7 separate regions of the Homo sapiens genome follow, and all the other regions are linked to region 1. The links are contacts of gene promoters, found by promoter capture Hi-C in blood cells and fetal thymus (Javierre and others, 2016). All regions are on one chromosome and are shown on one strand. Each heading gives the region's core, a stretch centred on a gene start or on the middle of the fragment in contact. The rest is flanking DNA. Distances are from core to core; before and after follow the strand shown.

Evidence for each region. The method cuts DNA at HindIII sites, captures the fragments that hold promoters and counts their contacts. A CHiCAGO score of 5 or more calls a contact.
Region 2: a fragment that was not itself captured here is called in contact with the fragment with the promoter of LINC03122 in region 1 in 9 of 17 cell types (neutrophils, naive CD4 T cells, naive B cells and 6 more); the score reaches 9.1 in neutrophils.
Region 3: a contact is called between a fragment that was not itself captured here and the fragment with the promoter of LINC03122 in region 1, in 4 of 17 cell types (monocytes, naive CD4 T cells, naive B cells and 1 more). The highest score is 8.0, in monocytes.
Region 4: a fragment that was not itself captured here is called in contact with the fragment with the promoter of LINC03122 in region 1 in 17 of 17 cell types (total B cells, naive CD4 T cells, non-activated CD4 T cells and 14 more); the score reaches 16.2 in total B cells.
Region 5: a fragment that was not itself captured here is called in contact with the fragment with the promoter of LINC03122 in region 1 in 16 of 17 cell types (neutrophils, total B cells, fetal thymus and 13 more); the score reaches 14.3 in neutrophils.
Region 6: a fragment that was not itself captured here is called in contact with the fragment with the promoter of LINC03122 in region 1 in 10 of 17 cell types (total B cells, naive B cells, non-activated CD4 T cells and 7 more); the score reaches 7.6 in total B cells.
Region 7: a contact is called between a fragment that was not itself captured here and the fragment with the promoter of LINC03122 in region 1, in 6 of 17 cell types (neutrophils, fetal thymus, monocytes and 3 more). The highest score is 6.1, in neutrophils.

Annotation. Positions count from the first base shown.
Region 1 is chr5:61,635,568-61,639,820 of GRCh38, reverse strand. It overlaps LINC03122 (long intergenic non-protein coding RNA 3122), which reads right to left and starts at 2,040. Exons shown (of 2, transcript NR_126525.1): 1 at 1,975-2,040. The HindIII fragment of the contact is 4,932 bases long and covers 1-4,253 here.
Region 2 is chr5:61,020,677-61,024,929 of GRCh38, reverse strand. All of the region lies in intron 1 of NDUFAF2 (NADH:ubiquinone oxidoreductase complex assembly factor 2), which reads right to left. Among named protein-coding and RNA genes, the nearest start is that of NDUFAF2, 78 kb to the right of the region's middle. The HindIII fragment of the contact is 1,547 bases long and covers 1,497-3,043 here.
Region 3 is chr5:61,037,547-61,041,799 of GRCh38, reverse strand. The region is part of intron 1 of NDUFAF2 (NADH:ubiquinone oxidoreductase complex assembly factor 2); the gene reads right to left. Among named protein-coding and RNA genes, the nearest start is that of NDUFAF2, 94 kb to the right of the region's middle. The HindIII fragment of the contact is 8,800 bases long and covers 1-4,253 here.
Region 4 is chr5:61,055,215-61,059,467 of GRCh38, reverse strand. All of the region lies in intron 1 of NDUFAF2 (NADH:ubiquinone oxidoreductase complex assembly factor 2), which reads right to left. Among named protein-coding and RNA genes, the nearest start is that of SMIM15-AS1, 100 kb to the left of the region's middle. The HindIII fragment of the contact is 2,126 bases long and covers 1,264-3,389 here.
Region 5 is chr5:61,072,396-61,076,648 of GRCh38, reverse strand. It overlaps NDUFAF2 (NADH:ubiquinone oxidoreductase complex assembly factor 2), which reads right to left. Exons shown (of 4, transcript NM_174889.5): 2 at 3,435-3,524. Among named protein-coding and RNA genes, the nearest start is that of SMIM15-AS1, 88 kb to the left of the region's middle. The HindIII fragment of the contact is 6,746 bases long and covers 1-4,253 here.
Region 6 is chr5:61,095,909-61,100,161 of GRCh38, reverse strand. NDUFAF2 (NADH:ubiquinone oxidoreductase complex assembly factor 2) reads right to left here. Exons shown (of 4, transcript NM_174889.5): 3 at 1,130-1,170. Among named protein-coding and RNA genes, the nearest start is that of SMIM15-AS1, 64 kb to the left of the region's middle. The HindIII fragment of the contact is 1,702 bases long and covers 1,074-2,775 here.
Region 7 is chr5:61,115,231-61,119,483 of GRCh38, reverse strand. All of the region lies in intron 3 of NDUFAF2 (NADH:ubiquinone oxidoreductase complex assembly factor 2), which reads right to left. Among named protein-coding and RNA genes, the nearest start is that of SMIM15-AS1, 45 kb to the left of the region's middle. The HindIII fragment of the contact is 1,506 bases long and covers 1,329-2,834 here.

The sequences.
Region 1 (4,253 bases), core at 791-3,290:
TCATTACAAAGAACAAATCATTTGCAATATAAGTATGTCCCTGCAGTGTTGGGGATAGACATGTACTAAAAAATTTACTCTTTGCTTTTTGGAAATTCAAATTTAACTGAGCATCTTGTGGTTTTATTTGCTAAATCAGGCAGGCCTACTCTGTCCCAGTGTATAAGCATCACACCGCCCTTGGTTCTTATCCAACATCCAGACCTATACTGGGGCTTCTCAGAATGGGATTCCCATGAATTTGGGATGCCCTGAGAGGTAGCGTTAGTAGTGAAAAAGGGGACCCTGCAAGGTGGAGGCCTCAAAGCCAGTTATTTCTGCTGCCGCCCTACCCAAGGAGAGTGTAGATGGAAGTAAATATCTAAATGCCCTCATTAGGGTGGGGCTGTTCCAACACAGGAATTACGACACACGGCCAGACTCAGAGGCTGCCCTCTGTTCTGTGGCAAAAGGGTCCCAAAGTACAGCCCACTGCTTAGCCTGACTGCCCTTCCTAAGTACTTCTTAAAGACTGCGTGTCCCAACCGGGCTCAAGCCTGTAATCCCAGCACTTTGGGAGGCCGAGGAGGGCTGATCTCGAGGTCAGGAGATCAAGACCATCCTGGCTAACATGGTGAAACCCTGTCTCTACTACAAATACAAAAAAATTAGCCGGGCATGGTGGCGGGCGCCTGTAGTCCCAGCTACTCGGGAGGCTGAGGCAGGAGAATAGCGTGAACCCGGGAGGCGGAGCTTGCAGTGAGCAGAGATCGCGCCACTGCACTCCAGGCTGGGCGACAGAGCGAGACTCCGTCTCAAAAAAAAAAAAAAAAAAAAAAAGACTGTGTGTCCCACTTTATCTGAGGGGCCAATCTGCTCAAGACATTTTTGAGCTGCCAGTCCCGAACTGCGTGCTTAAGCCCCAAGAGCTAGCAGGTATCCGCAGAGCCCCTGCACAGGGCTGCTGGGAGTTTCCATTGGCCACGCCTTCTGACCTCAGTTCTGCACTCCCATGCTCATTAGCTCCCTGCATTCTTGGATGCTCTTGAATATTCCCCTGCTCACCCTTCTTCTCTTGCCTGGTACAACCTTGGTAGCCTGACCCCAGAACTGGGCTGCTTGCCCTGGGCACCAGTTGGCTTTGTTCCCAGGCATTACTGCTGGGATTCGCTCTGGACTCTGAAATATGCCTCCTCAGCCAGCCCGACTGCCCAGATCCCACCAGCCTGCTCTGTCCAGAGAGATGAGACATTCGGACTATTCAGTGTCCGTTCATGCCATCTGCTGGGATCATGATTTCTATACTCTGGTCACACATTACATGAATAATACTTCCCCCATTTCCTCAAAAAGATCCTCAGACAAGCTCAACCCCCATGTGCTAGTAGTTCAGGATTCTATGACCATCCTAAGTTTACACAACCACTTGGCCTTGGCTGGCCAAGACATGATGGTGTGGGAGCCTAGGAAGACCCTTCAGAGACGGCAGCAACCAGACTCCTCTTCTCACAGTCCCCCTCCAGCTCTGGTCTGTCCTCCTCACACAACCTCCCCCTCACAGTTTTGGGGTCTCATCTTTGGACCCTCTCTTGCCCCATTTTCCAAACACATCATCCCTGGCTGTATTAGGGGTCTCTGGGGCAGCCGCACTATGCTTTGATAGAGGGATGAGGTAAAGTTATTTTCCACTTTATTAACCTGAAAAAGCATAAACCGACCAAGTTTAGGGGCCTGAAGCATATTCTAAACAGACAGTGTCTCCTCCCTGACCCAGTTCTCTTACGGAATCATGGGAACCCATCTCCTCGACTTAGCAGCGGCAGACAGGCTGGTGTTTCTTGGCATTGTTTTCTAGGGCTGAAGCTGCAGTTTTCCTGATTTGGCCCTTGCATATTATTTAATTGTTTATCTTGACATACAGGTTTATCCCAGAAGGGGATGTTTAAAAAGTGGCATGGAGACCCTGGCTATAGACAGAAATGCAGCTTAACTTACCTTGGCTTCCTTCCTGCCAGACTCCTCCCAATTATTCTGCAGGCTTCTTTGCCCTGAGGGCAGTTTGCAGCTCCAGGGACTGGAATTGGCTTAAAAAAAAAATTCCTTCCTCTCTGTGCCCCATGTGAGGGAGCATTGTGTTCTCTCTAAATAATCAGCCTGGCTTTGTGTGACCTAACTGGACAGGGCCCTTTGAGAGATTTTTCAGTTGCAGAAAGAGCAGTCAGTGGCATCCTACAAAATCAGAAAGTTTTCAGACCAAGGAGAGAAGTCAGTGACAGCAAGATATTTTTTTCTTTAAGTTGTATTGTGACTAATTCCTCTCTCCCACTGGTGTTTAGAGTAATTAGGTAAAAGTGCAACAGAAGAATCCAAATTTATATTTTAGATCTAATAAATAATAACATTTAATCAGATGATCCCCATCCATTAACACCAAAATAACAAACAATTCAATGAATTATTTTAGGGTACTTACTATGTGCAAGGCATTGTCAAGGTAATTATTTCTTGCATTTACTGATTTCCTCCTGGGGACGCAGCACTAGCAAGAAGCTAATGGATTAGAAAGAAGTAGAAGGCCTCCAGCTGACAACCCACTCAGAAGAGAACATGGATCAGAATTGCCTGCCTCCATGGCAGGCACAGAGCTGGGAATTCATAAGCAGAAATTACTTCATTCAATCATCTCAATAGCCCTGTGGGGAAGACAGTAGTTCTCCATTTTACAGATGTGGAAACTGAGATCCAAAGACTATGTATATAGCAGGCAGAATGATGCCTCCCCTCCTTCAAAAATTCTGAAGGCTGTGAATAGGTTACCTCAAATGGCAAAAGGGGCTTTGAAGAGGTGATGAAAGGTTTTGCAGTGGGGATGTTACTATCGACTTTCTGAGTGGGCCCAGTGTAATTGCCATGGTCTTTAATAAGGGGGTAGATAGGAAGATAAGAGTGAGAATGACAGGGATGTGACAATGGAAACAGAAATTGGAGTGATGTCGGGTCATGAGTCAAGGAATGCATGCACCCTCTAGAAGCTGGAAAAGGCAAGAAAACAGATTCCTCCCCCTCCACCCCAAGCCTCCTGAAGACGCCCTGCCCTGATAACCCACTGTGAACTTCTGGCCTCCAAAACTGTAAGATATCTTGGTCCATTTTCTGCTGCTGTAACAGAATACCACAGGCTAGGTAACTTATAAATAACAGAAGTTTATTTGTCTTATGGATCTGGAGGCTGGGAAGTGCAAGATCAAGGGGCTGCATCTGGTGAGGGCCTTCTTGCTGTGTCATAACATGCAGAAGGCATTACCTGACAAGAGAGCATGCGAGAGAGAGAGAGGAAGGGAACCAGAACTTCATTCTTCTATGTGGAGCCCACTCCTTTGATAACTAACACACTCCTGTGATTAACAGCCTTGATCCATTCATGAGGGCAGAGCCCTCATGACCTAATCACCTCCTGTAAGACCATGTTTCAACATTGTTACAATGGCAACTAAATTTCAACCTAAGTTTTGGAGGGGATATTAAACTATAGCAGTTATACATTTGTGTTATTTTAAGCCACTGAGTTTGTAGTCATTTGTTGGAACAGCAATAGAAACTAATACAGTATGCCCCATTTGCATTCCACAATGGATTTGAGGTGGTCATAGACAGTTGCTCCAGAGTGGTAGAACCAGTCAGGACTGCATGCTATCTAACTGGCCCCTGGAGTTCTGCAAGGCAGGGGCCCTAGAGCAGGATTCAAGTGAAGTCAATGTGCCCTTAAAGTCTATGTCGTTTCTTTTTTTCTGATCTGCTTCCTCAAGATAAAATTTAGGAGCAAAATGAGTGAAATACCAGAAGAGAAATATTCTGTAACATGACATGTTTAATGAATGAGTAAAGAGTTCAGGAAATGAGTGAGTTCTGAAAATGAGTTACTGGTGCATGCTAAAGTGATCCGGGAAGACTTGATAGAGGCAATATAGTATAACCTGGGCCCTGCAGCATGGACAGATTGGAAGTAGCATTAGAGGCAAACAGGAGGCCTTGCAGCTGAGGGAATGACCTGATAGAAGAAATGCCCCTGGGAACAGAAAGGATAAACCAACCTTCCTAACCTGTATCCCCACCTCCTACCCTCACCCTATTCTCTGCCTGTGGATTCCATTAAATCTTCCAACCAAAGCCTTGGCAAAGGCTTTGAATAACATCCTGTGGTCTTCCTTACTTTACAAATGCTAAGTCTTGACCCAAAGAGATATATTTCGTCTTTCTCGCCCACAGTTACCAAA
Region 2 (4,253 bases), core at 1,021-3,520, 620 kb after region 1:
CACATGGAAGCATGAAATAGAGGGCCTTTGGAAAACTGTTAGCAATTGGAAACAGAGAACAAGGCTGATATGTAGTATGATAGAATAAGGTAGGCTAGAATATTAAATACTTATTTAAACATTTATTTTTTAAATAATAAAATGTTTATTTAAACATTATCCAGAAAGCAGTGGGAAAATATTTTAAGCAGAGGTATAATAATAATCAAGGATATCTCTCAACAGGATATAAAAGCTACAGTATAATGATTAAGAATACAAGCCTCTGGAGCCAGACTTACTTTAAATAGAGCTCTGCCATGTGCTAACTATGTGATTTGGGATAAGTTACTTTCTCTATTTCTCAATTATCTCAACAGTAAAACAGTGATAATAATACTACATATTGCAGGGTTAGAATGAAAATGACGTGTCTTATAATTATTTGAAGCTATTATTATTACTATTATTATTATCATTTTATAACTTGGTAGGGTCTATCAGTCTAACTTAACATATATGAGGCCTAAAACAAATAAACTTATTAAAATCACCTAGAACGTCCTTTGGCACAAACTAAACATTTGACTTATTTTCACTTAGAAAACATTTACTGAATATTTATTAGGTACCAGATACACACAAAACAAAAAATGTTTGAAAAACGCACTGGAGGGAAAAGAAAAGTTAAAACAATCCCAAAACAGAATTTTTAAAAAGCTATTAGAGAATCAACCAATATCCTTAAAATAGAAAGAAATTAAGAGTCAATCAAATTACATCAATGTTAAAAAAAACAGAAAATTCTTATAACATGGTATAGTCCAAGCCAATATGTAAGGGCTTCCTTCCTGCTCCAAACACAGAGAAATACTGGATAAAATACTTTCAAAATAATACTTTGCTAAAAATAAGAAACAAAAATTCCTCAAGTGCTGGAAACAAATAGAAGTCAAAGCCAGAGCCATAAGCTTAAACAGACACTGTAGCAATCCCCGGGGTTTCAAACTCAGCTCTAGGCTTTAAGGGCTAAGTGCTTGGACATACACCTTTAAATCACTTGCAGGAGTGAAAACATACCCATAGCTGATGTGAGGTGGGGGATCAAGAACTGAGCATCCACCTAAAGCTCACAGAATCAAAGAGGTGTGCTACTCAAGAAAAATTAACTAGAAAAACGTGGCCCATGAACTCTAAGAGGAAAGAAGCCAGTCATTAATTTGAAGCCTTCAATGAGAGAGGGAAAACAGTCACCACTAAAACATAAAAAACTCTACAAGAGTATCCTATATATGTGAGGGTTTTAAATTTACATAATTCCGTGGTGTAAAATTTAAAAGTAACATAAAATCTGACTGGACCCTTGAAATTTTTAAGGACCAAAAGATGTAGATGTAAATAGTCCCACAAAGATACTCACATACTATACTGGACTTCCATAGAATACATAGTCCCTAGTAAAGATGAGCTCATAATAAAAAATTATAAATTGAAGAAACCATCACGAGGAGAAAGCTTTAGCTGATGTAATAAATAGGCAAATTACCCTTCAAATACTACAAATAAAATAATCTAAAACTATAAATAGAATCTGAAAATGACTAAACCAGTAAAAATGTTTAGAATGATTTTTCAAAGACAGAAAAGCCACAATGACAACACTGGTTATGCAAAAAAAAGAACTAAAATATTTTTAAAAGAACCAAAGAGAAATTCAATAAAAAAAAATCACTTAAGAAAAAGAAAACCTCAAGGAATGACAGATTAGAATAGCTGATATGGAGGACAGAATACAATCTGTATCTTTACTAGGCATTCTAGAAGGAAATGACAGAAGAAGGGGGGAACACCTATTTGAAAAGACAGTGGCTGACATTTTCCAAAACTGATGAGCCACATGAATCCCTTCCCGGGTCTAGGAAAAACAAAAATCAGAATAAATAAATTAAAAGAAAAGAAACTCATACCTAAATAAAGTACAGTGAAAATGTAACACACTAAAGGCAGGCCGGGCATGGTGGTTCACGCCGGTAATCCTAGCACTTAGGGAAGCTGAGGCAGGCAGATCACCTGAGGTGAGGAGTTCAAGACCAGCCTGGCCAACATGGCAAAACTCCGTCTCTACTAAAAATACAAAAATTAGCTGGGTGTGGTGGCATGCGCCTGTAATCCCAGCTGCTTGGGAGGCTGAGGCAGGAGAATCGCTTGAACCTGGGAGGCAGAGGTTGCAGTGAGCTGAGATCACGCCACTACACTCCAGCCTGGGCCACAGAGCGAGACTCCGTCTCAAAACGAACAAACAAACAACATCACCACCACCAACAACAAAAACACTAATGGCAAAGAAAGGATCTTAAAAACAACCAGCAAAGGACAGGTCAGATTATCTACAAAGAAAAGATAATTAAAGGTAGATGTCTCATACGCAATAACAAATGCTAGGAAACAACAGAATAATATCCTCAAAGAGCTAAGGAAATATAAGTGTTATCCAAGAATTCTATACCCTATTAAACCATCATTCAGGTCTGTGAGGAAAACAGACATTCTCAGACAAATAAAAACTGAGAATTTATTTCTCCCAGTTTCTTGGGAAATATATGTGTAAAGAAGGAAAACTGAGCATAGAAAGGAGAATGGAATGCAAGAATATGTTACGAGAAAAGATATTGGTAAACACATTAGAAAGTTAAATAAGTACATAATATTGATAATAACAGTAACAGAAAAACTAAGTAACTTGGAAAGAGTAATAGTTAACATTTTTGTCAATTTGTTTGGGCCATGATACCCAGATTCCTGGACAAACGTTATTCAGATGTTTCTGTAAAGTTGTTTTCTAGATGAGGTTGACATTTTAATTAGTAGACTTTGAGTAAAGCAGATTAACCTCCATAATGTGAACAGGCTTCATCCAACCAATTGAAGGCCATAAGAGAACAAAGACAGGACAACCTCTCCTGAACAAGAAGGAATTTTGCCAACATAATATCTTTAGAACCACAATTTTTCCCTAGGTCTCTTGCCCACCAGCCTATCTTGCAGATTGTGGACTTACCAAGCTTCTACAATCACAATTCCTTACAATAAATCTCACTCTCACTTGTTGGTTCTGTTTCTCTAGAGAAGCCTGATTAATGCAGAAGGCATTTAGAAACAAAGGGAAACTAAAATGCTAAACAACACAAGCAAGGAAAGTACAAATGAGCATGGTATGCAAAGGTAAAAAGGCATAATATTAAATACTGTTAAACACATAAATAATATCAATACCAAGGAAAAGAAACAGAATGTATAACATCCAAAACAACAGAGTGGGAAAGGTGGGGGAAGGAAAATGATATAAATAATGTGAATAGACAGAATAAGGGCGTCCTAAAGATGTCTATGTACTAATTCCTGGAACCTGAGACTGTTACCTTACATGGCAAAAATGACTTTGTATATGTGACTAAATTAAGGGCCTTGAGATGAAGAAGTTATCCTGAATTACCTGGGTGGACTCAATGTAATCACAAGAATCCTTATAGAAGGAGATAGAAGGGTCAGAGTTACAGAAAATGTGAGGGAAGAGCAGAGGTCTGAGAGTCAGCGACAGATCTGTTTGAAGATGGACAAAGGGATCACAAGCCAAGGAATGCAGGTAGGCTCTAGAAGCTAGAACAGGGGAAAAAAACAGATTATCCTCTAGATCCTCAAGAAGAAACACAGCCCTGCCAACAACTTGATTTTATCCCAGAGAGACTAATTTTGGCTATCTGACCTCTAGAACTGTAAGATAATAAATCTGTGTTGTTTTAAGCCACTAAATTTGCAGTAATTTCTGACAGCAGCAATAGGAAACTAATACTATGCCACAAAGTTAGAAATGAGAAACGAGTAATAAAAGTAACACCAAATCAAGTTTCCTAATATATTTGGAAACTTCTTTAAATAGCAAAAAAAAAAAAAAAAAAAGGCTGGACGCAGTGGCTCATGCCTGTAATCCCAGCAGTCTGGGAGGCCGAGGCAGGCGGATCACGAGGTCAGGAGTTCGAGACCAGCCTGACCAACATGATGAAACCCCATCTCTACTAAAAATACAAAAATTAGCTGGGCGTGGTGGTACACACCTGTAATCCCAGCTACTCAGGAGGCTGAGGCAGGAGAATCACTGAACCAGGAGGCAGAGGTTGCAGTGAGCAGTGAGCAGAGATTGTGCTGCTGCACTCCAGCTTGGGCGACAGAGTTGAGACTCTGTCTCAAAAAAATAAAGATCATACTCCCAGCTACTC
Region 3 (4,253 bases), core at 608-3,107, 600 kb after region 1:
GGTGAACAAATATCTGGGAAAAAATGTCACCTACCAACTAAGAACAATGACTCTTTTCTCCTTATTAGTAGAAGATAACTTGAATGTCTGCCCATGGACACATAAAGATTTAACCATTACAAGTGATGCTTATTCACCTGATTGGATAAACTAAACGTTGCTTATAATTCATAATTTATTACTTGCAGTAACTGAAAGAGTCACATAGTTAAGTCTACCAAGTTTTAAACTCGAAAGTATTGGTCTATTCTCAGTAATGAGTTAAAATATTAATTATATTTCTTACCTACAATCTCTCTAAGACTAAGTCTCTCTTAGCCTGTAAGAATTTAAAACCAACACTGGGAATCTTTGTGTATTAAAATTCATGAAAAAAACTGGTACGGGTGAAAAAACAACCTACAACCACCTCAAATAGTCATTAGTACCTCTATTGGTAGTATTTCAACTCTTCGATCAAAAATATTCAAATACTTATAAAACTACTTCTATTTAAAGAGAGATAAAAATTATACTAGTAAATGGAGAATATGTTTACATTGAGATAAGAATATTACTTGATGGTAATTTTTCATATCTCAGAAATGTAAGCTATAATCCAATCCTTTAAAGTTTAAAAAATTTAAATTTGTATATATCCTCTTAGATGTTACTTCTGAATATTAGCTCTTCATAAAATACCATGTTACTTTAAACACATTTGTAAGTCATTTTACTAAATGTTAATCTTTATAAATGATCTGTGCTTTGGATAGAATTTTGATAGTTAAGCAGTTATTTTCAGCTGTGCTCTATAATATTGGAGCAAAATTATGACAAACTGAATATTCTCTGGATAATTCAGGTTGACAGTCCCTTAGGGATTTCATTTACTTAAAACCCACTTTGGATTTTATTTTTCATATGAATGGGACATAAACATGATAACAACAGTTATCCTACTTTTGCTAACTATAGAAACCCAAACCTGGTAATTATCTACAATTATTTTTTCATACAAAATATCCTTACAGTTATTTATACTCCAGTCTCTCTCTAATATGCATACTTAATAAAAACTAACGTGTTCTCATGAAGAATATATTTGTGAATCTTAAAAAATAAGACTATCCCACAGTTATATGCTAATAAATACTTGTGGGGTTCTGAAATCAGGTATAGAATGAGTGTGACACAGTTCTCCTCTCAAGTACTTCATAGCTTAGTAAATGATAGAAATTTGTACAAAAAAAAAGGCAAAAAAATATATATTTATGGGAGAATGTTCAGGAATACTGACTATTTTGGTTTCCTAGGGCTGCCATAACAAAGAATCACAAATTGTGTGACTTAACAGAAATTCATTGTCTCTGTTCTGGAGGCTAAAGTCTGAAATGAAAGTATAGGGAGGGAGGGTCCTCTGAAGGCTCTAGGGAAGAATCTTTCTTTGCCTTTTCTAGTGGCTCCTGGCCTTCCTTGGCTTGTAGCTGCATTACTCCAATCTCTGCTTTCAACTTTCGCGCGCGCGCGCGCGTGTGTGTGTGTGTGTGTGTGTGTGTGTGTGTGTGTCCTTTCCTCTTCCTATAAAGATACCAGTCATTAGATTTAGAGTCGACCATAATCTGATCCCATCTTAACTTAACTGTATAGACAAACACCCTACTTCCAAATAAGATAACATTCTGAGGTTTCAAATGGATATACATTTTTTGGGGGGACACTATTCAACCCACTATATTGACCATGTATGAGGAAAAAGAACAAAAAAATACTTGCCAGGTTGTGTAAACTTCAAGTTCAAGTGTTCAACAGCTTAGCAACTTCTTAAGAAGGTTTTAAAGTCTTCATTTCAGTAATGGATCTGAGATGATTTAACAGAATATCTTCAAAGTTCTAAAGAGTTATAGTATCTTGATCTATAGTAATGGCTCCTCAAAATTTAGTTCATAAACTATTAAAAATAAAATAAAGTAGGGATGACTGTTCCACCCATTCCTGTTTGTCCAGCATACCTCATCAGAATTAAGGGCAATGTTTGTTTTCTTTGATGAGAAATCAATGAGATGCTATGGTTCTTACTAAGCATAATTATTCATCCTTGCCAGAAAGAGAAATACAGCCATAATCATTAAAACTAATGACTGGCTATCTCACCACCTGAGGGATTCTTAAGGACACCAGCCGTCCCCTAAATCACAGTTTGAGAATGATCTAAGTTAATTGGCAAAACAGAAGTTAAGTATACATTATATCATCACTTATACCATTTACTGAATAGCATTTCTGTGGTAGAAAATAGTACAACTATTGATTGAGATTCAGTTGGAAATTTGGGCTTAATTACTATTTTCTAGGAAGCAGAAATATTTCTTTAAATTTTGGGATTCTAAAAAAGATAGCATTCATGGTTTCCAGTTCTTTTGGAGAAGAACTATTATCTATTAGTTACATGTGCTTTATAAAACATCTGATAGATGTTCTATTCTTCAGAAACATGATTTTTTAGAAAATGAATTCTATAATATGCTTGTTACAAATATAGTCTCTTCCCATCTCTTTTTTTCAACAGTAACTTAAATAATGCGAGTACAAATGCCACTTCCTTAAATATCTGATGGGTCCTCAGCACTCTGGCATGTGGTAGCTTTGTCCCCAAGACTTTTTTTTTTTTTTTTTTGGCCTGTCAGCTGTGAGAAACAGTTTTCTACCAATTACTGTCACAATATGAATAAATTCAAAACTGAAAATATAAGCACTGAATATTTTCAGTAAATTTATCCCCAAAACTATATTAAAATAGGGACTTACCATTTAAACAAGGAATTTAGCAAGTAATAATGAAGAAGTATCACATTGTACTTTGTCTTCTATAAATAAAAACACATGTAACAAGATAAACAAAAAAGCATTCATGCAAAGAAGAGAAATGGGCAAATGACAGCAAGCATATAAAATGAAATGAAAAAAAAAAGTTATAGCTGCAAAGAGAGCATCAATTAAGAAACATGACCTCAAATGTTATGGAGTTATTGGTTTTTGTCACCCTTTTTGGATGATTAATAATAACTTAATAACAAATAATTTTGAAAAGATTTACTTAGCATTTACCTCTTTATCCAACACCAATCAGTTTCTTTTAGTATGTGGCTCAAATCAAACATTAAGCAAGCATTTGGTCCCTAACATGATTTTGGTTTAAAAGGTAAGAGAGAAAAATACTATAAAAATTAGCAATGCTTTTAGATTATCACTCCTAATAATACCTCAAATAAACAAGATAGAGTTGGCTCTTACTGTAAACTATGCCAAAATTCTTTTTCTGGGGGGTGGGGTTAATAAAAGTTCTACATTTACAGGTGTGACCAATGAGTACAGTTTGAGCTGGCTACAGTCCCAGTGGTCTGGTCCATAAACCTTGTTTGGTCAGAACACAGCTCTTCTAAGTCTCTGAATCACAATCAATTTTAATACCAGGGTAATAATGCACAATTATTTGCAGGATATATTCTTTTACACTCATTTGCAGAATAGGCATTATGTTGCCTTTTTTATACTTTCACTTAGTCTTCTCAAATGTCTTTTAGAGTATTTTATTTTTGATGATCTATGTACATTATAGATTGCAGTTTAACAAACTCCCACAGAACTGGAAGATTTAGGCCTTAAAGTTATAGTTTGTAACATTGCTGACTTTCTCTCTCTCCCTCTCTCTCTCTCTCTCTCTCTCTCTCTTCCCCCGCCTCCCTCCCTCCCACCCCCCGTCTCATCACCCATATTCAGTCCCTCCCATCACCCATATTCAATCAACCACCAAGTCATGCTGTCATGTCTTTCCTAATGGCCCTCAGAAGTCTGCATTTTTTGCAGCTCAACTACTACCCTTCACTTCAGACCTGCACCATGTGCCTGTATTACTGCAATAACAATTGTTCTTAAATGATCATGTGCACTAAAATCCATCTTGTCAGAATAATACCCTAAAAATACCCCTCTAATCATGTCATAAATCCTTCAGAACTATTCAAAGGCTTCCCATTATTTATAGAACCATTTCCAAAGATATGTTTTATAGAATACTGAAGTTTCATATGATTTTCACCATGTTTTGATTTTTAAAAGCGAGTAGGGGAAAGGGGATGGGTTCTTTCACCAAGTATAGATAAATGGAAAAAGTGGTTTCTTTATAGCAAGATTTTTCAGAGCTTTTAATATGTTGAATACACATTGCATACATCCAAGGGTTGGAAAGTATGCATTTTATACATTTATTTCAT
Region 4 (4,253 bases), core at 1,077-3,576, 580 kb after region 1:
ACCAATATTACGTTTAAACTGGACTTCATTAATGAATTTTTTTTAAAGCCACAAATAAAATTTCAATCTGAAAATACATAAGAATATCACAATTTAAGAAAAAAGATTAACCTATTGTAAATTTGTGTTTGTGCTTTGCACAAGGACAATAAACTCTTATTGACCGTTAATTTTTAAAGGTTCCATGAGAGCATTATATTCAAACAAAACTTCAAAGTTCTAAAAACATCTGTAATTCAACCAACAAATATACACTGAATAGTCTATTGCATTAATCTAAGAAGATTTATAATTAAAAGTTAAGCAGGTCTTCTGATTATATTCCCAAATCAAACATGTAAGTCTTAGAAATGCCTTTACTTCATTTACTTCCCTTCCATTACTGTGGAAATCACACATCAAAAACTGTTTTTAAAAAACAAAGAAATAACACTTGAATATTATGTTGAAAAACCATTTATTTTCCAAACTGAAAGGAATTTTTGATCTGCTGAAAAAGCAGTTACAATTACACCTGATCTACTCTCCAAAAGAAGGTAACCATTCAAACAAAAAATATAAATGATGAATGCATGACTATTTAGTCCATGTAATAATGTGTTCACTATGAAGAGCTGAAAGAAGTAGTCATTTCAGGTTTTGATTGATGTGTAGAAATCAACTTTTGAAAGTACTTCACTCACTTAATACATTCTATACTTTTTTGTAAAGCTAAATTGTCTACAATGTATGAAGTATATTCATAATTGAAAATGTGAACATTTAACAAAATGTCAGAAAAATGAATATTAGGTGATTCTGCTATGAATATATCTAAATTATAACATGAGTTAAGATGTCTTAAACACACACAAAAAGGAAGGAAAAAAGGCGGGGATGAAAATTTTTTTAGCTAAATTAAATAGGCTTTAAGACATTATACAAGAATTTCAAGTTTTAACAAAACTATTTTACAATAAGAGGACATTTATGAATGTGATTGGAAATCTTATTTTATAGTGACTCAAGCAAACAAATTCCAATCTGGTACACCCTTGATATAAAAATATATATAAAAAGAGTATTTTCTTTCAAAATTAGTAAATATTCATAGTGTGGTATAAAATAATATAATCAAGTATTTAATTTTCACTTTGAAAATCTAATTTGAACACTAGGGCTTTCAATATATAGGTAAAAAGAGAGATGGAAGGAAATAATTAAAAATGATGGCAAATATTACTAGAATTTAGAGAATTATAAAATTATAGTATGTGAAAAGCTTGGGCCAAGCCCAAACTTATTTTCAGATTCGAAATGTAGCAGATACAGCTGATTATGTGATTGACTTCTAGACCCAAATGGTTTCATAGAAATCAAATACTTGGTCATTAATCACAGACCATAAAAGAGTCAAAGACCGTACTGTTATCTACTGTTACTAATTCACAGAATATGTGGCAGTTTTAAATATGAATAATTTAATAAAAATAAACAGATTGCATTTTGTGGTACATTAGTTCTCAATTTTAAAAAATTATATTTATTAATCCATGAAATTACTAATACCCTTCATTAATCTATTTAATTTAGCCACCAGGCACCACTGATCACTAATAAATAGAAACATTCTGATATAGAAGGAGATCACATAATCATCTAATGAAATGTGATAGTTATCAAGTTAACAGGAACTACACTAGTATTTGTGAACCAGATTCCCAAGCTCAAAAATTGGGTTTAGTTGGTAAAAGTCTCGGATGCCAATAATTTTCAAACTATTGTCTTTAAAAATATCCTCTTTAGAGGTTCAATTTACAAAACTATTCAAGCAGAGCCTCTCTGGTTAAGGGAGGGGTTCAGAGTACCACCCACCTTTTCTCCCCTCCCCTTACATGTAGTTACCTCCTCACACTCCTAGGATTCTAAAGAGTCCTGTGAAAATCATTGATTCAGACCAAGTACTGTACTTCTGAGATTCCCCAGTCCATCTGTGAATACATATATTCATTTACTAAACAAAATCAAGATCTTGCCAATGGGCAGAAAGACCACCATACATTTACTTCTTTCCCTATACTATTCTTCATTTAGTTAGTCAAGCAATCTTTCACAAACTACTGAGTAACTGGTTGTAAGACAATGTAGCATTTTCCCTACAATCCTGTTTTCCAAGAACATGTAAAGCCTACTTCAGCTGTGAATCTATGATTTAAAGCTAGAACTTGATTTAAGGCTTGCTTCCAGTGTTCAGAAAGGATGAGTTCAGTGAGAAGTCATTTTCTCATGTTGGAATAAGAAGTGCTTAGGAAAAGACAAAGAAGTCTGAACAACAAGAGGGAAAAACAACTCTCCAATTCACTTGTCATCAAGCAAGCAGGCCTTCACTGGAGAGGCATTTTTAATACTTTGACTCCCCAGAACTGCAGGCTGCTGTGAAGGGAAAGATTTAGGTAGTCTGAGGCCAATTACCAGCAGTAAAAGGAAAGACAGGATAGAAAATTCCATCAAAAGTTTTTATATAGCACCATATAAATATATATATATATATATATATATATATATATATTTTTTTTTTTTTTTTTTTTTTTTTTTTTTTGGAGACAGAGTGTCGTTCTGTTGCCCAGGCTGGAGTGCAATGGCGTGATCTCAGCTCACCGCAACCTCGGCCTCCTTGGTTCAAGCGATTCTCATGCCTCAGCCTCCTGAGTAGCTGGGGATTACAGGCACGCGCCACCATGCCCAGCTAATGTTTGTATTTTTAGTAGAGACGGGGTTTCACCATGTTGGCCAGGCTGGTTTTGAACTGCCAACCTCAGGTGATCCTCTTGCTTTGGCATCCCAAAGTGCTGGGATTACAGGTGTGGGCCACCGTGCCCAGCCATAGCATCATATGATTTTAGTCATTCGTTTAAACTCTTCCTATGACAAACTTTACCCTGGCTAATAACTAACAAAATTGGATGACATGAATTTTATCTTTGTTCTCTATTTTAGTTCGCTGTTAGAAAGATATGCTAATAAGCTGTGATTGCACCAAAAGGCAGGCTGTAGGAGCATGAAAAAGAAAAGTTGATTCCATTTTGCTTGTGAAGGCTGCAAAAAGACCATTAATCTTGCAATTTTTACCTACTTATTCATTATTTCTCAATGATGCTCAAAAAGATAAACACTACAGTCACTAATAGTAAGATATGCCACATGGTATTACTTTAAGATGGGGGTCTCCAAAAACAGAGTGCATATAAAAATGGAGCCTGCCTCTCTACTCAAGGATGTACTGATAGCCCATGCCTGGATATTTACCTACAAAAGAATAAAATAATTGGAGTTGAACAATTCTTTATTCTTAGTAGCAAATGACAAAGCTCAACATTTTTTCCCTATTTCTTGCTACTTTCTTATAAGCTTCCAGGTTCTGAAGATCATGTAATTTAGGCTAATTTAGCAACGTGTCAATAATATTATGTTAATTTGGCTTATTAATGTTATCTGACTCATTTAGATGAGCAGAATTATATTTATTGAGCATTATGTATATGATATTAATAGACACTTTATTTTTATTTTCTTAATTCTCACAACAATCTTCACTTTTATAATTGAGGAAACTAAAGCTCAAAGAAAATTGAATGGATAAGGAAAGGTGTGTCTTGAATTATGTTTAATTTTTACATGGAAATTTAAGAAAATGTACTAGCATAATCACCTCCTATACTACAAAAACAGTGTCCACATATAGTCAGGTTCATGCTGCCTCCCTTTTTTATTTCTGCCTCCTTTTCACAACCCATTTTACAACCACTTGGCATATACTTTCCACATCTTCCCCCTTTGCTTTGTGCTGCAGAACAACCTAACTATTCTGTGACAATAGCACCACTTATTGGCTGGCAAAGGTATTGGAAAAATCTGAAATCAGTATCTGCTTTCTTACCTTTAGAAAGATAATGCATAATTTGGGCTTTTTATTCTGCCTTTTTTATTTCAGCTCACTCACACCCACCTGAAAAAGTGTTTTTCTCATATACACATACAACTCCTTTTTTATCTTTCATATCTCCTTTCAAAAACCTGTAGAGTTACTTTACCACTTGATTTCACTGCTAATCAATGTTTGCTAATATGAAGCAATGAAGATGAATTGTGAATTAAAAGCAATTTGTGAATTATTCTGGAAACAGAACTACAATTTACAACACAATTTCTATTTTAAAATGTGTTGAATTTCAACAAGCTACATACATGGAATTTTTAGGATTCAACTGATTTGT
Region 5 (4,253 bases), core at 1,010-3,509, 560 kb after region 1:
AAGCCAGAGTCTTTAAAATGGCCTACAAGGCCCCCCAGATTCACAATCCTATTAACTCTCTAACCTTATCTATTAATTTCTCTCTCATTCTATCCCAATCACACTGACTTCCTTGCTGTTTTTCAAACATCTGAGCATGTTCCTGCCTCAGGGCTTTTGTACTTGCTCTCCAGTAATGCTCTTCAGCTGGTTAGCTGCATGACTAGCTCCTTCTGTTTTTATTCAGAAGTCATTTCAGTAAAGCCTTTTCTGAACACTATTTAAAACTGCAAAACGGCCGGGCGCGGTGGCTCACGCCTGTAATCCCAGCACTTTGGGAGGCAGAGGCGGGCAGATCACGAGGTCAGGAGATGGCGACCATCCTAGCTAACATGGTGAAACCCTCTCTCTACTAAAAATACAAAAACAAAATTAGCCGGGCGTGGTGGCGGGCACCTGTAGTCCCAGCTACTCAGGAGGCTGAGGCGGGAGAATGGCGTGAACTTGGGAGGTGGAGCCTGCAGTGAGCCAAGATCGCGCCACTGCACTCCAGCCTGGGCAAAGAGCGAGACTCCATCTTAAAAAACAAACAAAAAAACTGCAAAACCTTCCCCAACACTCCCTATGCCCTTTCCCTGCTTTATTTTCTGTGGCCATTAACATACAATATAGTCTAGTTATTTATCTGGTGTATTGTCTTTCTCCCACCCTAGAAAATAAGCTCTATGAATGTAGAGGTCCTTAATAGATACCTACTAAATAAACGAAGAAAAAGGGCACATTGTTTAATCTACATTGTGGGAGAATATGCAACTTGCAGGTCCCAGTAAAATTGACAAATACAATATTCATCTGAACCTGAAAATACTTAATTTACTTTTTCATGGTGCTGAGTTATTTTTCACATTTAATTGATGTGTACCACCATAAAAATAATTTTTGTTTAGTGTTTGATTGATACATTTGTTTTAAACATATGTCCCATGGGAGAGTTATGCCAAATTACTAGATCAGGACAGCCATAAAAAGATTAGAACTTCATTCAAACTCTCTGAAAGTCTCAAAGGCTGAAAAATGAGTCATTACGTACTCATTTATTTATAACATTTCTATAAACATCTTAATTCTATACTATTATTGGAAAAAATGATAAAAACAAACTCATTCTAAGAAGGTGCACGCATTATCCAAGAATTGTAAATGTAGTTTATAACACTGGAGAGTCTGCTAAAATAAGAAAGCTCAATTACCCCTCCTAGAAGTTGCCAATTTATATTCTGTATTTCTTCAAAAAACCTTTGGTATCTACTTATTTTTATGGTTTTTTTTTTCCTCATAGTTCTAGTAGTAAGCAGAAATGGAAAAATATTTTTACTGAAATGATGTTTACATTCACATGCTGGCATAAAAGTAACATAATGCCTATAGCTACCACATGTAAGGTATCATGCTATGCCAACCAAGAAGCAATGAGTCTACTGTTTACCCACGTATGAAGCTATATAACCCAGGTAAATTAACTAACCTTTTTAGGCCTTAGGTGCTCCATCTATTAAATGGGTGATATGGTTTGGTTCTGTGTCCCTACTCAAATCTCATTTCTAATTGTAATCCCCTTGTGTCGAAGGAGGGAGGTGACTAGATCATGGGGGCGGTTTCCCCATGCTGTTCTTGTGAAGTGAGTGAGTTCTCATGAGATCTGATGGCTTTATAAGTATTTGGAAGTTCCTCCTTCATTATTCTCTCTCCCGCTGCCACGCAAAGAAGGTGCTTGCCTCCCCTTCGCCTTCTGCCATGATTGTAAATTTCCTGAGGCCTCCCCAGCTATGCGGAGCTGTGAGTCAATTAAACCTTTTTCCTTTATAAATTACCCAGTTTCAGGTATTTCTTTTCTTTTCTTTTCTTTTTTGAGACGGAGTTTCGCTCTTGTTGCCCAAGCCAGAGTGCAATGGCGCAATCTCAGCTCACTGCAACCTCTGCCTCCCGGGTTCAAGCGATTCTCCTGCCTCAGCCTCCCGAGTAGCTGGGATTACAGGCCTGTGCCACCACGACTGGCTAATTTTTTGAATTTTTTGTTATTTTCTGAGATGGAGTCTCACTCTGTCACCAGGCTGGAGTGCAGTGGCGTGATCTTGGCTCACTGCAACCTCTGCCCCCCGGGTTCAAGTGATTCTCCTGCCTCAGCCTCCCGAGTAGCTGGGACTACAGGCACGTGCCACCATGCCCAGCTAATTTTTGTATTTTTAGTAGAGACGGGGTTTCACCATGTTGGCCAGGATGATCTTAATCTCTTGACCTCATGATCCACCCGCCTTGGCCTCCCAAAGTGCTGGGATTACAGGCATGAGCCACCACACCTGGCCTAATTTTTTATATTTTCAGTAGAAACGGGGTTTCACCATGTTAGCCAGGCTGGTCTTGAACTCCTGGCCTCAGATGATCCGCCCACTTCGACCTCCCGAAGTGCTGGGATTACAGGCGTGAGTCACCACTCCCGGCCTCAGGTATTCAATACATATTGATTAACTACCTACTAGGTGCCTTACAATGTGCCAGGCACTATGCTAGGAACTGGTAAGCAAAAAACAGAAATACATAACATGGTTATGAGGTGCCATTTTGAACTCAGTCTTGCAGATGAACTTCATTCAGAGAGAAACTGAACTGGGAACCAGAAAGCTGTTGGAAAACTAGGAAATATTCTCTCTATGTACTTCTCATTGTGAACTAGTTTCCGTTTTCTTCTCAGTAAATCAGCTTTTTCTGCAATATTAGCTTTTCTAAAATCAATTAGCTTTTTATGCAATAAAACTTTGATGGTAGACTGAAGGTGACCACTTACAAGCTACTAAGTTCATATGTTACTGTTAGAGCCACACTGAGAGACCAACTGCTGCTGTTTGTCTCCCTTTGATCTTTTATTTTAACTTCAAAGTCTTAGGAAAGGGATCGAGCATCCATCCTTGTCTTAACAGGCAGTCAGTTATCATAGAGTTATTGTGAGTTGAAAAAATACTCCAAATGGTATCTACAGCAAGTATTATGCATAATTTATAAAAGAAAAAACTAAAAGTTTAAGTTACTTTGCAAGTTCATGTGTGTAATGAGTGCCAGAAACAGGATTCAAATCCTAGGATTGTGCAAGTGCTGGGTCACTACATGAAAGTGAGTGCCTGCTTAAATTTTGCATCTTAGGATTTTGGCTTGCCTCACCTTAGTCTCAGCTCTGATAATGCTTAATAGTTCTTTTTGCTATACATGCATCTGCTTACTAAAATTCAGCACCTTCACAACTTTCAAAGAAATGCAATGTTAAAAAAACAAAGTTTCAAACATTCAGACACTAAAACTTTTTTGCAAAGAGAAACAGTATATAACTATATATGCTCTTATTGAATTTGTATACTGTTATATAACTTACCTCCCATGAGATTCTACTAAAAGCAGAAACTTACCTTCCCATTCTGTTGGAATATCCCCTGCTTCATAGTCTACTTCTTTTTTATTTGCTGCTTCTACAATTCTTTTCTCTCGAATAGTTTGTCCTATAAGACAAAAGTCATTAATACATTTTTAAATGAACCTATGATACAGTAGTTCTACAATTAATCTTTGAATATTGCATAACCCCTTATATAGTAAAAGAATTAAATTAACAGGAAAACGAGAATAGATTTCCATTTTGAATTAGGTATATTACAAAAGGCAAATTCTAAACTACTGTAAAAATTTATAATTATTTACCACAGCCTACAAAAATTAAAGGTAGGCCAGCCGCAGTGGCTCACGCCTGTAATCCCAGCACTTTGGGAGGCCGAGGTGGGTGGATCGCCTGAGCTCAGGAGTTCAAGATCAACCTGGGCAACATGGTGAAACCCCATCTCTACTAAAATACAAAAAATTAGCCAGGCATGGTGGCACACACCTGTAGTCCCAGCTACTCTACTCAGGAGGCTAAAGCACGAGAATCACTTGAGCCCGGGAGGCAGAGGCTGCAGTGAACCGAGATCGAGCCACTGCACTCCAGCTTGGGCTACAGAGTGAGACTCCATCTCAAAAAATAAATAAATAAATAGATAAATAAATAAATCTAGATTTAATGTACAGAAAAAGAGCAACCAATTAATCCTATAGAGCACTAATGGCCAATAAAAAATATTTTAATAATCAACAGCAAGTTCAACTTCTTCTGACTTACATGTATATATCTTAGAGGAAGCAATGGCTGCTGCAATCACCCAAGAAAATCGATATTCATTGCTGTTACTAAGTAT
Region 6 (4,253 bases), core at 675-3,174, 540 kb after region 1:
CTGAATCCTGGATCATATTGCCTTTTATTTTTTCCCCCCAAAACAGCTTTTATTCCAAATTTTATCAATGTTGGAAAGAAGGGTCTGCGAAAAGTAGGCCAAGGCAGAAGCAACATACAAAGCTAGAAATGGGTCAAGAGATGTACTCAGTCAGACCCTGGCCGAATGAACATTAATGGGTTCAGTATATGACAAATGTATGGAGCAAATAAACATAAGCATGCCAGTTGAGGTATCATCATTATCCTGCTCTAGAGCACTCCACTTCCCAACAAATGGGGATTGAGTACCGGAGCCCATTTATGTTGTCATCAGGGCTTGTAGTAGTGACAGAATAGGCAACAGAAGAGAGGAGGGAAGTCCTAAATAGTAGAAGAAAGGGAATGCCTCTAGACAAAAAGTAAACAAGGCAGTACACTAATGCATTTAGAGACTCTCCTTTTATGAAATTACTTCTTATAAAATAACTTTAGAGGTCTTTACATATTTTTAAAATTAAAATTATAATTTTTATAAAATAATCTATATAAAAATTATATTGTAAAACATATATACCATAGCATTTCTATGTTTTTTTATTGTTTATCACTGACTACAAATTTTTTAGTTTTAAATAAAAAGTCAACTAATAATTACTGTTATAAAATAATTGCTAATTCTGTATTTTAAAGTTTCTTTGGATACTTGATGGATTTAAATACATAATATTAAGGGAAACATAAGAGCATGATTTGGACAAGACAAAGAGATTCAGTGTTTCTCAAACTTTTCCACAAAAGCTTGAGTATTGGCACAGAGAACCCCCAGGGCCCAGGGGAAATAACCTGGTGCAAACTGCTCCAAGTTCAGACTTTCTACAGAGTGTTTTAATTTTGTTTTAAATTTTTATTATTTCACTTTAAAATTTATACAAATTTTGTTATATTCCATAATATGAGCATTTATTTTATCATATATTATTTTATTAATAATATAGGTTTATATATTAATTTATTATAAAATGTTTTAAGTTATTTTCTGTGATGGAATAAAATCAACACTTTGAGAAAATACATCATAGTTTTTCTGAAGCTTCGTATATCCTTGGGAATATATACTCCTAAATGATATCCTCCTTGTGTAGTCTTACCTCCATAGTAGGTGGAGTCTTTCTTGTTCTTCTAATCCAAGCTAGAAAGAAAAATAATATTTAAATGTCAGTTTCCCATAATTTACACAAACATTTTTATCCATAAAACAAATTTTTTTGAGTACCTACTCCATATTATTTTAGGTACTGGAGATACAGCAGGGAATAAAACAGATTAAGTCCCTTCTCTACTGTAGCACATGTACTACTGAAGGGGTTGCAGAAAATAAACACACAAACATATGGTTGGTGGTGATATGTGTCATGAAGAGAATATAATAGTGTAGAGAAGATAAAGAGGGGACAGTTTCATATGTTTAAAATCATACCTCCTAATCATCTAAATTCGACTGGGTATATTTATGGCATACAAGCCAAACCAAAATACAGCAAACTTCAAGACAATATCAAAATTATATTATTCTGGAAATTTGAATTAGTTACTGTTCAATTTATAAAGGAAGGGACTTAGAAAAGTTTTTCATTTACAGAGGTTTCTTTTCTGATTTGCTCCAGCAAGCAAAAATATCATCAGGCCTTAGCTCTAACACTTGGCAGATGGGCTGCAGAGATAGAGCCCACATTTGTTAAGTGGCTGCTGGGGCCTGGGTACTGTGCTGGATGCTTTGCAGCAATGGGAAGGGAGTGGGGCAGCTGCCTTTAGGGAAGTTATCAGAATCACATGGAAGACAGTATAGTATAGTGCTTATGAGATTCTAAAGTCAGATTTTCTGGGTTCAAATCCCAGCTTCATCACTTACTGTCTGTGTCACCTGGAGCAAGTTATTTAATTTTCTAAGCATCAGGCTTCCCATCTATAAAATGGAAATTATAAAAGTATCTACACTTCAGGGTTGTTGTGAAAATTATATAAGATAATATACATAAATGTTTACTTTGAAGCCTGGCACATAAGTCTAAGTTATTAGTATAATTATTACTATTATTCAATAAATCTCTTAAAAATAAGACTCAAAAAACAAAAGATCAATAATATCTGCTTAGCCTGCAATGTTGTATAGGAGACTGTGAGAAAATATATTGTAGGGAATATGATCTTGAAGGCCACTGTTTTATCATTTCAGTTGATTCACTCTTCACTACAAAATTGAAGAAATAGAAATAAAATGAATTCCTCAAATTTATACATTAAGTAGTAATGGTTGTATTTGAATTCAGATCTGACCCTGTCTCTGGCTCTAAAAACCATCCACGCTCAACTAAGCAGTCTTTCAAAGTTTATGAACAACATGCAAAGAATATTAAACCAGAAAGAGAAAGCCAGGCTAGGTGTGACCCTAACTACATGTTAGAAAAATAAGAATTATTGATCCCATTTTAGAGATTTGGAAACTGAGGCCCAGAGAGATTAAGAAACTTTCCTAATGCCATATAATTAGCGACTGGGAATTAAACCCTGGTTGAACTGGCTCTAAAGTCTTAGCTTTATCCATTCACCAGCCACTATCTCTTGTGACCAGCTCTAACAGCCAGCCTTATTCATTTAGGCACAGACTGTCACTGACTTACAGTAGTTTGACTTAGGATTTTTGACTTTACCATGGTATGAAACCATTCTGTTTTTCATTTCAGTACTTATTCAATGAATTACATAAGTTATTCAAAACTTTATTATAAAGTAAGCTTTGTGTTAGATGATTTTGCCCAACTGTAGGTTAATGTAAGTGTTCTGAACACATTTAAAGTAGGCTAGGCTAAGCTATGATGTTTAGTAGTCTAGGTGTATTAAATGCATTTTCTACATGATGATATTTTCAACATATGATAGGCTTATTGGGACATAACCTCACTGCAAACCAAGGATCATCTGTAATAGCACCAGGACTTGTCTTCATAAAAAGCCCAGCACTGAATGGTTTGTGGGGGTGGAAACAGCAACATTCAACTGCGGGCTTGGGATCAGTCATTTCCCCCTGCTCTATTCTCTCTTGCACTTATCCCTTACATGTATCTCCAATACAGTTCCAGTGTTCTCCATTCTCTACTACTGTTTCTAAATTTCTACCCTTGTTATTCTTTCTGCATTCTGTTTCCTTCTTTCTTTTTTTTTGAGACAGTCTCGCTCTGTTACCCAGGCTGTAGTGCAATGGTGTGATCTCAGGTCACTGCAACTTCTGTCTCCCGGATTCAAGTGATTCTCTGGCATCAGCCTCCCAAGTAGCTGAGATTACAAGTGCTCGCTACCATGCCCAGCTAATTTTTGTATTTTTTGTAGAGATGGGGTTTCACCATGTTGGCCACGCTGGTCTTGAACTCCTGACCTTCAGTGATCTTCCCACCTTGGCCTCCCAAAGTGCTGGAATTATAGGCGTGAGCCACTGCACCCAGCCTGTATTCTGTTTCTATTAGCTTTTACTCCTATTTGGCCAATTTCTAGCCAAAACTTGTACAGATTTTTTTTTTTTTTTTTTTTTGCAATGGTGTCTCACTCTGTTGCCAGGCTGGAGTGCAGTGACGCAATCTTGGCTCACTGCAACCTCCGACTCCCTGGTTCAAGCAATTCTCCTGTCTCAGCCCCCCGAGTAGCTGGGACTACAGGCACTCGCCACCACGCCCAGCTAATTTTTGTATTTTTAGTAGAGACGGGGTTTCACCGTGTTGGCCAGAATGGTCTCGATCTCTTGACCTCGTGATCTGCTCGCCTCAGCCTCCCAAAGTCCTGGGATTACAGGCGTGAGCCACCACACCTGGCCAACTTGCAAAGGTTTTAATCTCCCTTGTGAGTCTGTAAGGTTGTCAAAGGCAGGAGGTACCCATGGGAGATTTATTTTTCTGTCATTTTAAGTACCTACTCTTTTGGGGTATTTACTCTTTTAAATGCTATAAAAGAGGTGGTACTTTAAAAATTATTGAATGAATATTTTGAAAAATATTTGTTCTATCAGGATTTTGATCTTTATTAGAAAATCCAGCTTAGCAATACCACAATTCCTTTGTGTAGTCAAGGAAATAAGTGACTTTGGGAATTTTTCAATTGCCTCTTTATGGCCCAAATTAAAGTTACTTAGATTCAGGCCAAGATGGACGACTAGAAACAGCTAGGGTACGTGGCTCTCATGGAGAGCAACCAAAGGGGCGAGTAAATATAGCCCCTTCAACTGAA
Region 7 (4,253 bases), core at 832-3,331, 520 kb after region 1:
AATAAGATCAAATTTCTGAAAACAATATATGAATGTATTTTCCCTGAAAATGTAAAGTATCAGAGCAATTTTCATATAGAAAAAAAATACTAAAAACAGAATCTAAATTATAGACATATATTAACTGTTATGTCTAGTGTAGTGTCCAGGGCAGGTTGGTATGTACAAAAGAAGTCTACATGCAAAGAAATTGTTAGCTCTTGAGCATATACCAGATGCCTGATGATAAGTATTTGAATTAGTAATGCAAATATATAAGCCTTAAGGCTTTTAAAAGGACTTTCAAGAACTAAACTATACTGATTCGTTCTGTATGCACATTACTGTGACAATTCCTCAAGTGCTTTTGGTATTTTCAAATTTCAAGTATCCCATTTTTCAGTTTATCCTGAGTAACTTGTTTTTCTATCAGGGACCCAATATGTTCTTTTAAAATATGTAATTATAAGGTTTCGGTATATTCTTTTAAAATAAAGTATTTCATGTGTTAAAAATAAACATAACTAATAACATACACCTATAACCCACCATCCAACTTAAGAAATAAAACACTACAGACATGACCAAAGCTCTCCATGACTGTGAACCCTAACATTTTCCTTCCCCAGAGATAATAACTACCCGGTTTCTCATCTATCATTTTCATGAATGTTTTCATACTTTTACAATATCTCTATATATCCATAAATAATAGTAGCAGTGTTTTTTCTTCGTTTTTTGCACATTTTATCTTCAAAGACTTTTGAAAAACTATGCACCATCTTGCACATTTCAGTTGACACTTAAGTAATGACAAAGGATGCATTTTCTAGCTTATTGTATACTGAATGCATGCTTTAAGTATATCTTTGTCAAAGCCTTGGAGCTGCAGTTCAGCTTATTCAATACACAGAGAATATAACAATATAACTTAATTGGCAAGGCTAGTCCTCATTGTCAAACTCAACCAGCCAAATCTGACTTACTATCTGTCAGAAAAAGTCTGACTTAATTTTAAAATTCAAATAAACGTGTTATTATTCATCCCCATGACAACTTTCTCACTTGTGAATTTTAATTTTAAGATAGATAAATGGACAGCTAGCTAGCTAGGTAGACAGAGAAACTATAATATAAGGCACGGAGCCTGGCCATGAGTTTGTTGCCTGCATGAAATAATGTATTACCCCTTCACTAATTTTTATTGATGCTTTCTTTGCTTTGCTCTCAAAGGACTATCCCTCAAGAGAGATTCACTCTCCAATTGTCTCCTTGTGTGGTGCCCGGGAGATTTTTAAACTGCAAGGCAAGACACCATAGTAAGATTTAGTACGGAAAAGGGGTAAGCTTTTCTTCTGAAAAGTGGGAGACAGATGATTTTGAAAGAAGTGAGAAAGGAGAACTGGCAGACCAGAAAGAGTTCTCAGGTAGATAGTTTTTAGGAAGGACTCCATATAGAAAGAGAGAATGAGGAAATTAATTTTTTAAAGCTATTCATAATGGTATATCCCATAGGAAGTCTTTGTGTATCCAGTGGTATAGGCATCCCAATTTGAAAACCATTGATCATTACCAGGATTGACAAACTAGGATCCACCTGCCAACTGTTTCTGTAAATAACGTTTTATTGGATATAGCCACACTTACTTATTTACATACCATCTATAACTGCTTTCATACTACAATGGCAGAGCTTAGTAGTTTCAACAGAGACCATTTGGGTCACAAACCCTAAAATATTTGCTATCTGATACCCTGCCGAAAAAAATTGCCACTGCTCATCCATATCATTGTATATGTGCTTTTTAACATTCTTTTTTTTTTAAAAAAAAGTCAATCATATGCATTGGGCTGGGCACAGTGGCTCACGCCTATAATCCCAGCACTATGGGAGGCTGAGGTGGGAAGATCGCTTGAGTCTAACAGTTGCAGATAAACCTAGGCAACATAGTGAAACCCCATCTCTACAAAATCAAAAAAAGTTAGCCAGGCATGGTAGTGTGCACTTGCAGCCCCAGCTACTTGGGAGGCTGAAGTGGGAGGAACTCTTGAGCCCAGGAGTTCAAGACTGCAGTAAGCTATGACAGTGCCACTGCACTCCAGCTTGGGCAACAGAGCAAGACCCTGTCTCTTAAAAAAATTATACATCTTTTTATTGTAGGGCCATTTCATTCTAAAAGGCTTGTTATGACAAATAATAGTTGCCTCTTCTCAAAAGCAATACTTTATATTCTTTAAGCTGATGTTTATGGTCATAGTATAGGCCAAACCAAGGAGCCTTAAAAGTGTCTGACAGTTACAAAGCAGGCTCTGCACTTAAACACTCCATAATAGCTAACTAATATTTTAAAACTGTTAGTTATTTTTTCAGTTTTAGGCACTATATATTAACTTCTCATTTTTGAAAATGAGGGTTTGCCTTATTCTTTGTGTTCCCTAATACCCTAGTATAGTTGTGGATTCACATATTATGAGTAAACACTGTCAACAAGTGAGTTATGTAGTAGAAAATGATTATTTTTCCTTTTCCTTCCCAAGTTTTTTCCGCAAATAAATGAATTTTGTTTATTTCTCATGTACTTATCGATAATTCAGCCCCACTTGGTATGTTCAGATGTATCAGGTACTCTATGTATTTCATGTTTTTGGGGAAAAAAATCTCTCCATTCACTCTGCCTGGACTGGTTGCCTTTCATACTCTAGTACCCTTTGCCAATGCTGCAGTTTTATTTCTTGGATCTCACCCCTCCCTTTTTCTTTGTTTACTCCTTTAGTCACTTTGTGAGAAAGGGTTTGTAGGAGATAATTCTATGAGACTTTGCATGTCTAAAATGTGTTTAGCCTACATTCAAGCTTAAATCATAAAACTAGGTATAGAATTCTAGACTAGAACTGTCAGAATGTTGAAAGCACCGTTACTTCTCTGTCTTCTAGCTTCTAGTATTACTAGTCCTCTAATTTTTCTTTTCTATTTTCTGTTTCTTTCTGCCCTATGTTACAGGAAATTGAATAGAAGGTTCTAACCCTTCAGTTAAACATTTCATTTCTATTATATTTTTATTTTTCCAAGTACTCCTTTTTGTTAAATATTCCTTTTATTTTGGAACATTAAGTTCTCATTTCATGACTGTAGTAACTTCTTGAATCGCTGAGGATAGCAGTTATTTTAAGTTTTTAAGTAGTCTGTTTTATCCAAGTGTTTTACCCTATTTATTTGTATGGGTCTCTGTTTTTCATTTCTCAGATGTCTAGTGTTCCTAGGTAAATCTAGCTGGAAACTTTGATGCCACAGGTGAAGCTTGTTGCAAGCTCAGTTTCACTATAACCTAATAAGGGTTTCAGGTCCTTTTTCTTGGTTGGTAAGAGTCCGCAAAGACGAATCTTCTAATACTCTGCCTGGAGCATAAAGGCCTGTTTGTCTTCATTTGAAAACCCAGTAGGGAAAAAGATCTAGAGGTCTCATTTTCAGTATGTACATGTTCATTTAATTCCTCTGTTTTTCAGAATGGTATATCTTCTCTCAAATTAGGAAAGCAGTGCTACATAGTCTGGACTATTTTCTCTTTCCCATGAGTAAATTTCTAGTTTTGAAATGGATAGAGAAGAGGCAGTTGTCTCGTTGTACGATATCACAAAGGGAATATAACAGCATCCTTTTCCTTTTTTCTAGGAGATTTAAAATTGATATAATGCTATTATTTAATAAGGTTCCTCTTCAAACTTCACCAGTTACCTCAATACTTTTCCTTACAGCAAAGTTTTTTCTCCAATCTAGGATAACATGTTACATTTAGCTGTCATGTATCAGTCCTTTTTAATCATTCATGTCACTGACATGACAAGCCTGGTGTTTTATGAAATGAGAGTCTCCCAATTTAGGATTTCCAGTTGTTTCTTTCCGGTTTTTTTCCTTCTGGTTAGATTAAGGTTATGAATTATTAGCAAGAATACTATAAGAGGAGAGGGGAGCAAGAGGTCCAAATAGAAGCCTCCATTAATCATCCTCACTGCAGGAACACCAAATTGAAAAACTATTCACACCAAAAAAGCACCTTCATAAGAATCAAAAATCATCTTAGGCAGCAGTTCAGCCACAGTCAGGTAGAGCATCAAGCGGTCTCCTGGGGTCCTTGATTCTAGGCCTTGGCTCTTGGAAAGTAATGTTGGACCTGCCCTGGGCCAGAAGAAAGCCCACTGCCCTGAAGGGAGAGTCCTAGGCCTGGCAGCATCCACCACAAACTGATGGAAGAACCCTCTTGGGCCTTAAATAAACA